3 separate regions of the Homo sapiens genome follow, and regions 1 and 3 are each linked to region 2. The links are contacts of gene promoters, found by promoter capture Hi-C in blood cells and fetal thymus (Javierre and others, 2016). All regions are on one chromosome and are shown on one strand. The core of a region is centred on a gene start or on the middle of the fragment in contact, and the rest is flanking DNA. Distances in the headings are between cores, read along the strand shown. Region 1 has its middle 23 kb from the start of CHIT1. Region 2 holds the start of PRELP (proline and arginine rich end leucine rich repeat protein). Region 3 has its middle 4.2 kb from the start of CHIT1.

Region 1 (4,202 bases), core at 1,381-3,880, 220 kb before region 2:
ATATCCCACTTCATAAACATTGGGTTATTTCCAGTTTTGGCTATCAGAAATGCAAAGCTTCTATGAACAGTTATGTATACGTCTCTTCGTGGACATATGTTTTCATTTACTTTGAATAAATACACAGGTGTAAAATTAGAGTCATCAGCTAGCTTTATGTTTAATAAGAAGCTACCAAGCAAGCAACTTTTCAAAGTAATTGTGCCATTTCACACATCCAAGAGCAACGTGAGAGTTTTTGTTATGTCAAATGCTTGCCAACATGTGGTGTTGACAGTCTTTATAATTTTAGACATTCTAGTAGGCATGTAGTGATTCATTATGGCTTTAATTTGCCTTTGCCTGCTGAGTAATGATGTCGAGCACTTTTTTTATATGTCTTTGTCCATTCATATGTCTTTGTTTGCTTCTGAAAATGTTGCTCAAGTCTGTCATCCACATTTTTATTGTGTTAGAAGTTCTTTATTATTCTGGATAGAAATCCATATTCAGATATATGTACTGTGAATGTTTTCTACCAGCCTTTGGTTTTGCCTGTTCGTTTTCTTAGCTGAGTCTTTTTTTTTGTATTGTGGTAAAAACCACACAACATTAAACCATCCTAAACATTTTTAAATGTACATTTCAGTACTGTTAAGTATATTCACTTGTGCAACAAGTCTCTAGAAATTTTTCTTCTTGCAACACTGAAACTCTATACCTACCAAACATGAATTCCCCATCCCACCTCCCGCAAGTTCTTGGCGACTACCTTTTTACTTTATGTTTTGAGGATTCTGACTTATTTAGATACTTTATATGAGTGAATTATACAGTATTTGTCCATTTGTGACTGGCTTATTTCACTTAGCATAATGTCCTTAAGCTTCATTCATGTTGTAACATGCCCTTTTTTAAGGGCACATAAAATTCCATTATGTGCATATACCACATTTTCTTATCCAATTACCTGTTATTTCCTCCTGTTGGCTATTGTGAATAATCCTGCAATGAACATGGGTGTGCAAATATCTCTGAGATCTGCTTTGAAGCTTTTTGGCTATATACCCAAAAGGGGGATTGCTGGATCATATGATAGTTCTATTTTTAATGTTTTGAGAAACTCCATACTGTTTTTCATAACATCTGTATAATTTACTTTCCCACCACCAGTGCATGAGGACCCAAACTTCTCTGCATCCTTGTCAACACTTGTTATTTCCTGTTATTTTTATAATGGCTATCCTGATGGGTGTGAGGTGATATCTCATTGTGAGTTTTATTTACATTTCCCTAGTGATTAATGATGTTGAGCATATTTTCATGTACTTAATAACCATTCATATATCTTCTTTGGAGAAATGTCTATTTAAATCCTTTGCCAGTTTTTAAATTGGATTATTTGGGGTTTTTCTTGTTGTTAAGTTGTACAAGATCCTTATATATTCTGGATATTGACCCCTTATCAGATATATGACTTGCAACTCTTTTCTCCCATTCCATAGGTTGCCTTTTCTCTCTGTTGACTGTTACTTTGATGTGTAAAAAAACTTAAGTTTTATGTAGTACTATTTGTCTATTTTTTATTTTGTTGCCTGTGCTTTTGGTATCATATCCAAGAAATTATTGCCAAATCCAATTGTTGGCATATAATTGCTCATAATGGCATTTACATTTTAAGAAATTGCTGATAGTGAAGGACTTACTGTTGCCATTTTGTTCATTGTGTTCTGTTTCACTTGTAGCTTTCTTTGTCCCCCCCCCCTTTTTTCTTTTGATAATTTCTTTTGTGTTTCATTAATTTTTTTTTGTGGCCACAGATTTTGATTCCCTTCTCACTTCCTTTCCTTTACAGTCTTTGTCCATTTTCTGTTGCTGTAACAGAATACTTGAGACCAGGTAATTTATTTTTTAAAAAGAGGTTTGTTTAGCTCACAGTTCTTGATGCTGGGAAGTTCAAGATCAAACAGCTGCATCTGACGAGGGTCTCATGCTGTGTCATAACATGGAGGATGGCATCACATGGTGGTTATGCATGTGAGAGCACTGAGCGGGTACACACACAAGAGAGAAAACATGAGGGGTGACCTCACTTTATAACAACCCACTCTTGCGGTAACTAATCCAGTCACTGAAGAGCAATAATTCACTCCTGTGAAATGGCATTAATCCCTTCATAAGGACAGATGGCTTATGACCCAAATGCCTCTTAAAGGTCCCACCAGTTCTCAACACCATTACATGGGGAACAAGCCTTAACATGAATTTCAGTGGGGGATAAACCATATTCAAATCATAGCACTTACATTCTATAGTTACTGTCTTTGTGGTAACCATTGCAATTACGTGAAACATAACCTCTTAATGTTTTAACAATCTACTTTTAATGAGTACCATGTGGTGGTTTCCTGATTAAAGCCCCTTAATTCAGAAAAACTGCTTGCTTGCTTACTTGTTTGCCTGTTCTCTTACATAGGTGTGTCTCCATAGATAAATTAGGGGAAAATCTGTCCCTTTGTATTTCAAAAAGGGCAAAGAAAATTGTAATTAGATTTCTCCATAGACACACTCTTTCCTCCCTGGGGGAAACTAATAAGAAGAGGGTATAACACTTTCCCTAGCTAGAATTCCCTACAGAAGTTTGCCTTTGGACTGCAAAGAAAACGGCTCTTTCATTCTTAATCATCAGATAAGTAATTCAGTACCACTGGGACAATTGTAGATTCAGATCTTTTGGCAGAAGACTGGAAGAATATGGGTAATATCATAACAATCTATTTTAAGCTGATAACAACTTAGCTTCAATTGCATCTAAAACTCTGCTTCTTTACATCTCAGTCCACCCCACCTTTATGTTACTGATGACTCAAATTACCTTTTTTATATTGCATATCCATTACCATAGATTTATAATTACTTTCTATGCTTTTGTTTTTTGAATTCTATGAGATTTAGAAGAGATTTACACACATTACAATACTACAAGATTCTATATTTATCTATATATTTACCAGAGAATTTAATATTTTCTTTTTTTTTTTTTGAATTGCATTTTGTCCCTTTACCTCAACTTCAGGGACTCCCTTCAGCATTTCTTGTAGGTCAGGACTAGTGGTGATAAACTCCCTCAAATTTTATTTATTTGGGAAAGTTGTAATTTCATCTTTGTTTTTGAAGGACAGTTTTGTTGGATCTAGCATTCTTAGTTGGCAGGTTTTTTCTTCCAACACAGGCATATCTCATTTTATTGCACTTTATTTTATTGTGCTTCACAGATATTACATTTTATACAAATTGAAGGCTTGTGGCAACCCTGTGTCAAGCAAATCTTTTGGCACCATTTTTCCAATAGCACATGCTTACTTTGTGTCTCTGTGTCACATTTTGATAATTCTTAAAACATTTCAAACTTTATTATTAATAGTAGCATATCTGTTATTGTGATCTGTGATCAGTGATCTTTGATGTTACTATTGTAATTGTTTTGGGGTGCCATGAAAAGACAGCAAACTTAATTGATCCATCTTGTGTGTGTTCTCACTCCTCCACCAAATGGCTATTCCCCGTCTCTCTTTTCCTCGGGCCTCCCTATTCCCTGAGACATGAAAACATTGAAATTAGGCCAATTGATAATCTTACAATAATAGCCTCTAAGTGTTCTAGTGAAAGGAAGAGTCATATGTCTCTTGCTTTAAATAAAATGCTAGAAATGATTAAGGTTAGTGAGGAAGACACGTCAAAGGCTGAGATGGGCTAAAGGCTGGTCCTCTTGTACCAAACAGCCAAGTTTTAAATGCAAAGAAAAATTTCTTGAAGAAAATTAAAAGTGCTACTCCAGTGAACACATAAAGCAAAACCACTTTATTGCTGATGTGGAGAAAGTTTGAGTGGTCTGGATAGATCAAACCAGCCACGACATTCCCAAAGCCAAAGCCTAATTCAGAACAAGGCTAACTCTCTTCTGTACTATGGAGGAAGGCTGAGAGAGGTCAGGAAGCTGCAGAAGAAAAGTTTGAAGCTAGCAGAAGTTGGTTCATGAGGTTTAAGGGAAGAAGCCATCTCCATAACATAAAAGTGCAAGTGTTGATGTAGAAGCTGCAGCAAGTTATCCAGAAGATCTAGCTAAGATCATTGATGAAGGTGGCTACACTAAACAACAGCTTTTCAATGTAGATAAAACAGGCTTCTATTGAAAGCAGATGCCATCTGGGACTTTCACAGTT
Region 2 (4,013 bases), core at 601-3,100:
CCCTCTATCATCTACCACCCACCATACCAAGGGAAACAAGCAAATCTGGCGTCTGATGTTCCCGGCCTGCAGAAGACGCCATATCCCATCTGGATGAGAAATGAAGCACATGAGCAGCCTGGCAGAGCCACAGTTAATGTGAACCTGGAGAGGAACCGTGCTGTCTTCCAGCAAGACCTCACCAGCAGGGCGTGAAGCCATGAGATCTGGGGTGGAAGGGGGTTGGAGAAAGGTCTGGGTTTTATTTTTCCTTCTCCTTTTCTTAGGCTAATTACCATTCATCGCAATCCCTTTCCTAAACCCTAATATCTTCCCAGTTTATAAAGTGCTCTCACATTTACAATATTTAATCTTCCCAACCCTGTGAGGTCAATATTATCCATATTTTGTAAATGAGGAAACTGAAGGTCCTCATGATCAAGTGATTCACCTAAGACCATAGCTTGTGGGTGGCTGAGCCCAGGGCTGCAGACCCTAATTTTAATGTTCTCTCCTCTACCCCATATTGCGGAGGGCAGGCAGGCAGTCCCCTGTCATGGGGCTCTGCAGCTCTCCATGGAACCAATAATGGAGAAGAAAATTGCGTTGCATTTTCTAAGTAGTCAGCTGGGATGGCAGGAATTTATTTATTTTATTTACTTATTTATTTTTTGAGACAGAGTCACGCTCTTGTTGCCCAGGCTGGAGTGCAGTGGCACGATCTTGGCTCACTGCAAGCTTTGCCTCCCAGGTTCAAGCAATTCTCCTGCCTCAGCCTCCCTAGTAGCTGGGACTACAGATGCCCGCCACCACACCCAGCTAATTTTTTTGTATTTTTAGTACAGACAGGGTTTCACCATGTTGGCCAGGTTGGCCTCAAACTCCTGACCTCAGGTGATCCGCCTGCCTCTGCCTCCCACAGTACTGGGATTACAGGCGTGAGCCACTGTGCCTGGCCATGGCAGGAAATTTTGATGGGCATCTACTTACCTGCAAGTGTGTTGTGCTTTCTTAATTGAGGGGCATTGTTAGAGGATTGTTAGAGGTAGTGGTGTTACTTGACTGGGTCTTCTGGGGTGTTGATGTGCACAGGGGAAATTTGGATTTCCCATCACTTTGTGTGATGACCACACAGCCCCTAAATCTCACCTAAGTGTGATATGGAGAAGCTGAAAGAAGCCACTACATTGTCCACATGAGCTAGGAACAGTGACTTTAGGTCTTACATTAAATCTTAATTCTGCCTTAACTTTGCTGTGCAACTCAGGCCAGACTTCTCCCTCTCTGGTTCTCAGAACAGCCCTGGCAGCCAAACCGAAGTTATCTCCTATGCCAGCCTGAGACTCCACTCCCTTTGCAACCTCCTGGAGAAGATAACTTAGGGAAAGACTGTCACTGCTCAGAGGAAGCATCCCAAACCCCTCACTGGTTTAGGAATTTAACACTACCGAGCAACGGCCCCAGAAGGCAAGGCGATTGTTAGGAGGAATTAAACAGGCTAGTGCTGGACCCAGCCATCCAGTCCTGGCTTACACAGAGGTTGCTTTTCATGCCTTTTCACTCTGTTAATTTGGCTTGTTTTCCAAACATGGGTCAAACAACCCCTCTCCAGAAGCGGCAGCAGCAGAAGGAAATGTTATTAAAAATGAGTCTGTTAGTGGGAATGGTGTGTGGATGAAGTCTTTGGGAGTTTTGGCTGCCAAATAAAGACTTTATTGTCATTCCTCCTTTCCCAAGCTCCCTCCCTCTCTCCTCCCCTCCCCTCCCTCCCTCCTCCCTCCTCTCCTCCCCTCCCTCCCTATGATCTGCCCCTCCCTCCCCCCAAGCTAACCTCCCCACCCCAATAGGATCTGGTGGAAGAAAAGTCAGGCAAACACAAGCACGCACACACCACTGGGAGATCAGATCTTCTAGCTGGCTCTCTGCTGCCACAGCTCCGCCGAAGGGAGGGGGTGGAAGAGGAGGACTAAACTCAGAGCTGAGAGGAGAGGCAGGTGTGTGCAGGTAAGCCCAGTTGGGAGATGGGCAGGAGACTGGGAAGAATCTTTCATCCAGTAAGTTTCCTCCAGCTCTGTCCATTTATTGATCTAGTCTCTATCCTCTCACTCCTTCCTTCCTCCCACCTCTTTCTCCTCTCAAATGAGTTCAAATTTAGTCTTCCTAACTTCTTTCCTATAGCCTCTTCCTTTTCTTTTCATCACTCTGTACCCCTATATTTGCTTACTGCAAAAGTTAAGCTTTCCTGCTGCAGATGTTTGTTGTAGCACAGAGAGCCACGCTGCACAAAGTGTTTCTACAGATCAGGTGTTTCCATAGAAACTGGACTCCAGAACCCATTTCTTTGCACCTTTTGTGTATTGTCACACATTGTGGAAGTCACACACATCACACGGAGGCTGCACGTTCACTACCATCACCCCACACGACCATACAAAATGAAGACATCCTGTCCATTCACCTCTGCCCTCTGCATCTGACATGCAGAGCTAGACCACATCATCACCAGACACCAGCAGACACACACACACATGCATGCACACATGTTCCCTGCATCTTGTCTCTCGCCCTCTCACACACACCTCCCTAGCTGTAAGAGCAAAGATAAAGTACGTTTTCCCACTGAGATGGCAGAGCCAGAAGAAAATCTTGCATCCCAAGTCCAGGCCGAATAGGGAGGAGATAAGCAAGAGCGGGAGCTGGAAGGGTTTCTTCATTATTTAGGGCTTCACTGGGTAGGAGGGAGAGAAAAACGGCTTTTTCCAACCTGCACAGTGTCTTCTCAGCAGCTTTCAATTTCTGTCTCACTGGTCCAAACCACTTGGCTTTTGGAAAGAAAGAAGAAAGCGACCCAGTTCCCAATCCTTGAAGGTCCTAATTCCCAGCTCTGGGGACAGTTCATTTTTTTATTTTTTTTTCCTGCAGGCAGCCAGAAAAATATTTTTCTTTAAAGCCGTTCTGAAATTATTCCAACCATTTAGGTTGGCAAAAGGTCCTGTGGCAGAGGAGAAAAAAAAAAAAAGGCAGCAGTTCCTTAAGCAGTTGGGGAGGGGAAAACTGAAGGGCGGCCCCTCTCCTGCTCCCCTGCTCATTCCTCTCTATTAATAGAGAGGGTCTGTCCCAAGGCAGGCGGGGTGTAGGGAGATCAGGGGTCCCACACACAGCTGATCTTCACAGTCACCTAAGGGCTGGAGAGGGAGGAGTGTGGAGGGCTTACTAAAAATACAGATGTCGGCTCTCACTGCAGATCTACTGAATCGAGACCCAGGAATCTTGTTTTAATACTTCAGGAGATTCTGATGGTCCACCAGGGCTCGAGAATCAGGGGCCTGAGAGAGAGCTTTGCTGTAATTTTTAAGCCCAAGACTCCGGCAGTGTTAGCTGGGCAGAAGGACTGTGTCCTGGAAAAGGAGCACCAGAGTGTCCCAAATAGGCCACCTCTTTTTTGGGGAGTGGGAGTAAACAGGGAAGAGCTGTCTCCCTCTCTCCTCCTTGCAAGCACAAGCAGCCATATATACCACAGAGGAACATTCCAGTAAGAAAGTTCCCCCAAGATGGCTCCACAGAGCTTCTGTTTCCCCTCACCTGTTAATCTGCCTGCCCCAGGACCCCAGGAGCATGTGCTGGGCCCTTCCCCTGACCCTTATAGGTCCCTGCTCCTCCTTCCCAGCAGCCACCTGTCTGGGCTCTCACAGAGGGTGAGCTGAACACTTTCTTCATGCCCCCTCCACCTCCCTAGTGGGCAATCCCATTTATTGGGCATGTGAGTGAAGCATTTCAAGGCTGGAAGGGGCAAAAAGCTGGGAGAAGTCAAGAATCGCAGTGGAACTCCATGGCCCACTGAGGAAGGCAGACTTGCACCTTCTGTGGCCAGTGTCCCCTCACCTGTTGCAGAAAGCATCGGTGAGAAGTTGGTGAATTAGAAAGACAGAACAAGCTTTCCCTAGGTGGCTGGGGACTTCCAGAGTCTCCTCAGTTAGTTGTTTCTGAGACCCAAGTGTGATCTCACAAGCCACAAAGGGGAGGAAGTTGCTCTG
Region 3 (4,090 bases), core at 1,552-4,051, 240 kb before region 2:
AAAAACAGATCAAAAATAATAACAGAGTTTGGTAATATGGCTGGATTTAAGGTGAATGTACAAAAATGAATAGCTTTTCTCTACATTAGCAATAACCAATTAGAAATAGAAGTGAAGGAAATGTCTGATTCACAGAAGTGTCAAAATCTATAAAATATTTATAAATAAATTTAATAACAATAATAAGTTTAATAGTAGAATCTATAAAACTTACCCACAGGATATAAATTTGCAATAGGATCTGAACATGTTCTTGCACGGGAAAACAATATCATAACAAATGTCAATTTTTGTCAACTAAAATACAAAACCAGTAATGATGGTGACACACTATACAAAACTTATTATAATTCCATTGGGATTAAAATAGCATGGAATTGCCACCAGGACAGACAAACAGAGGTAGGTCTGAGCATATATGGAGAGGGTGTGTGCAATGAAGGTAGCAGTTCAAATGAATAAGAAAAAGATGTTTTATAAATGCCAATGACTTAATTGTCTACCAATCTGGAAAGAATCAAAGTTAGGCCCCTCACACCATATACAGCAGAAATGACACGTGGTAAATGAAGGTGGGCACAGGGAGCAAAGGAGCTCAAGGAGAAACACCAGCCAGGGTGGGGTGGGAAAGCCAGTGGAGTGATGCTTGAACAGAGCTTTGAGAATAAGTAGGTTGCTGGACAAAGAGAGAAAGGGAAGGAAGTTATAACAAACACACCAGATGTTCACTGATGGAGCCTCTCAGTGAGGAAACTGCCCACGATACATGCAGGGACAGTGGGACATCATTAAAAACTCTGTGTCCTGTCGGTTGAGAACCACTGGTTGAGGTAGGCAGGTGGGGGTGATCTCTGCTGAGGGGCTCTGTGTAAAAGGGCACTGGACATGGCTGGAGGGAGAGGAGAGAGATACAATGCCTTGCCAGCCTGGATTTATTTTACAGTATGCCTCAGTCTAGTAGGGCACATCCTGGGCTCACCTGATGGCCAGACCTGAATTGCAAGATTTCAAGGAATAAGTCCCTGCCTGGAGGCTGAGACCTGGGAGCAGAAGGCAGGCCCATGTCCACCAAAGCTGGGGAGGAGCCTTCCCCAGGGACTGACCCAGAGTTCCCACCTAAGTAGGCAGGTCCCAGCCACCAGTACAGATTGCCCATGTGTAGAACTGAGAGGTCTCTGATGCCTTCAGCAAACTTCAATTAACAGCCCACCACACCTTTGCTCCTAAATTGTGTCCCTCCTGGGGCTGCCCTCCCTGGCCCTCAAGTCCTACAGAGATCACTCTGAGTTAAGCCTTGCCTCTTCCACAGTCAATGTACTCCATACTACCTTCTGCTATCTTGGAACAACTCCTTCCATCCAGAATAGGAAAGAACCCTGGCTTGGAGACAGACAGAACTGGGTGTATCTCAATGGATATCACCAATAAATTACTTTCATAGATTTTATACTCTCCTTTCCAGCCCCATTGGCTTCTCCCACCCCTTTCTCAGCCACTGCCAAAGCCCAAACCAAGTAAAACCAGTGTGCTTGATATAAAATGAGGCTTCAAAGCAAGTCCCCGTCCCACCCTACTGCAGAGCAGATGCCTGTATAGAAATTCTAAAGCTTCTGCTGATTTGCATCCAACCTGGCTGGCTGAGCTGGGGCTAGTCACAGCCTCTCCAAGCCTTGGTTTTCTCATCTGTAAAATGGGGATAATACTACCTATCTTATTTGGTAATGATGTGGATCGAATAGATAATGTGTGAGAGGGCTTTGTAGGTGGGAGGACGCCAGCCAGATCTCATGGGACTGCATCTTGATGGTTGGTATCACACCTTTTTCTCTTGCTTCATGTGAGCATCTCATCTCTGTAGCTGGACTGTCCATAGCCAGGCAGAGTGGGGCCTCTCTCCACACCTCTCTATGTGTCCCTCAGCACCAAGCATACAGGGGGTCTTCAATTAATGTTTGTTAACTGTTCCTTCCCACGTCCCACCGTGTTCTTCCCCTTAGCAGTAAAAGACATCACCACCTATCCGGGTCTCCAAGTCACCCAGGAAGTGTCCTTGATCCTTCCCTTTCCTCACCCTCAATGATCAGGACCTATTAGACATCCTGCCTCCTGCTCCATCTCCTCCACCTCCTAACCACCGTCAACTCCCACCCTGTCCCCAGAAGAGCCTCCTACCTGCCTTCCTTCCTAATTCTCTTGCCTCTGCAATCCATTCTCCACACAGCAGCCAGAGTACACTTTGAGAAACTTAAATCAGATCCTGTTGCTTTCCTGCTAAGACCTTGCAATGGTTCCCACTTAAAATAAAATATCAACTCCTTAACTCTACCTCTAGAACACTCTAACTCTATTCTTTCATTAGGACAATGTTCTTTCAAAGGACACCTTCTTGGCAGGGAAGATAATTTATCACTGGACATAACTAAATTAAAAAAACAAATTTTTGAAGCCTCTCAGGCTCACTTATCCATTGTGCCTGGAGCTGAGGCGTTAGATCAGGTGGCAGAAAATCTTTATGGACTAAACCCCACGACTTTGATTAAGTCTATTGGAGGCCCCACTCTAGTAAATTTTGGAATTATGTTTCTCTGTTTAACCAGCTTGTCTTTAGTGTGTCAGACAAGTCAAAGAATCCTGCATCAAAATCGAGAGAATGAACAAGCCTTCATCGCCATGGCACATTTATATAAAAAGAAAGGGAGAGATGTTGCGGGAAGTCAGGGACCCTGAACGGAGGGACCGGCTGAAGCCATGGCAGAAGAACATAAATTGTGAAAATTTCATGGACATTTATTAGTTCCTCAAATTAATACTTTTATAATTTCTTACGCCTGTCTTTACTGCAATCTCTGAACATAAATTGTGAAGATTTCATGGACATTTATCACTTCCCCAATCAATATTCTTGTGATTTCCTATGCCTGTCTTTACTTTAATCTCTTAATCCCGCCATCTTTGTAAACTGAGGATGTATGTTGCCTCAGGACTCCGTGAGGATTGCGTTAACTGCATAAATTGTTTAAACAATATGAAATCTGGGCACCTTGAAAAAAGAACAGGATAACAGCGATGTTCAGGGAACAAGGGAGATAACCATTAGGTCTGGCTGCCTGACAGCCAGGTGGGACAGAGCTATATTTCTCTTCTTTCAAAAGCAAATAGGAGAAATATCGCTGAATTCTTTTTCTCAGCAAGGAACATCCCTGAGAAAGAGAATGCATTCCTAGGGGGAGGTCTCTAAAATGGCCGCTCTGGGGACATCTGTCTTTTACTGTTGTAGATAAGGGATGAAATAAGCACCAGTCTCCCGTAGCACTCCCAGGCTTATTAGGATGAGGAAATTCCTGCTTAATAAATTTTGGTCAGACCGCTTGTCTGCTCTCAAACCCTGTCTCCTGATAAGATGTCATCAATGACAATGCATGCCCGAAACTTCATTAGCAATTTTAATTTCGCCCCGGTCCTGTGATCTCGCCCTGCCTCCATTTGCCTTGTAATATTTTATTACCTTGTGAAGCATGTGATCTTTGTGACCCACACCCTATTCATACACTCCCTCCCCTTTCGAAAATCACTAATAAAAACTTGCTGGTTTTGCAGCTTGGGGGGCATCATGGAACCTGCTGACATGTGATGTCTCCCCCGGACACCCAGCTTTAAAATTTCTCTCTTTTGTACTCTTTCCCTTTATTTCTCAGACCGACTGACACTTAGGAAAAATAGAAAAGGGCCCACGTTGAATATTCAGGGGCGGGTTCTCCTGATACCTTTGCACCTGCCATTGCCTCTGCCCACAATGTTCTTCTCTGTGATCTTCACACAGCTGGCTCCTTCTCCTCATTCATGCTTTTCCTGACCACTCATAGAAAGTAGTGCCCTCCCCTCAAGTCACTCTCTGTTCTCTCCTGATGATTTATTTTCTCCTAAGTACTTTCATGGCTGAATTCATTCATTCATTCATTCATTTGTGTGTAGTGTCTGTTTCCTACCACTAGAATGTAAGCTTCATGAGAGGAGGGACTTTTCTTGTTTAGTCCTCTTTGTCTAGTACCCAGAATATTTCCCAGCACATAGTAGGTGCTTAATCCATATC

Evidence for each region. The method cuts DNA at HindIII sites, captures the fragments that hold promoters and counts their contacts. A CHiCAGO score of 5 or more calls a contact.
Region 1: a contact is called between a fragment that was not itself captured here and the fragment with the promoter of PRELP in region 2, in 1 of 17 cell types (total CD8 T cells). The highest score is 5.4, in total CD8 T cells.
Region 3: a fragment that was not itself captured here is called in contact with the fragment with the promoter of PRELP in region 2 in 1 of 17 cell types (naive B cells); the score reaches 5.4 in naive B cells.

The regions. Positions count from the first base shown.
Region 1 is chr1:203,250,786-203,254,987 of GRCh38, forward strand. No RefSeq gene overlaps it. Among named protein-coding and RNA genes, the nearest start is that of CHIT1, 23 kb to the left of the region's middle. The HindIII fragment of the contact is 3,202 bases long and covers 1,030-4,202 here.
Region 2 is chr1:203,473,956-203,477,968 of GRCh38, forward strand. PRELP (proline and arginine rich end leucine rich repeat protein) reads left to right here and starts at 1,851. Exons shown (of 3, transcript NM_002725.4): 1 at 1,851-1,983. The HindIII fragment of the contact is 1,499 bases long and covers 716-2,214 here.
Region 3 is chr1:203,231,836-203,235,925 of GRCh38, forward strand. No RefSeq gene overlaps it. Among named protein-coding and RNA genes, the nearest start is that of CHIT1, 4.2 kb to the left of the region's middle. The HindIII fragment of the contact is 2,393 bases long and covers 1,606-3,998 here.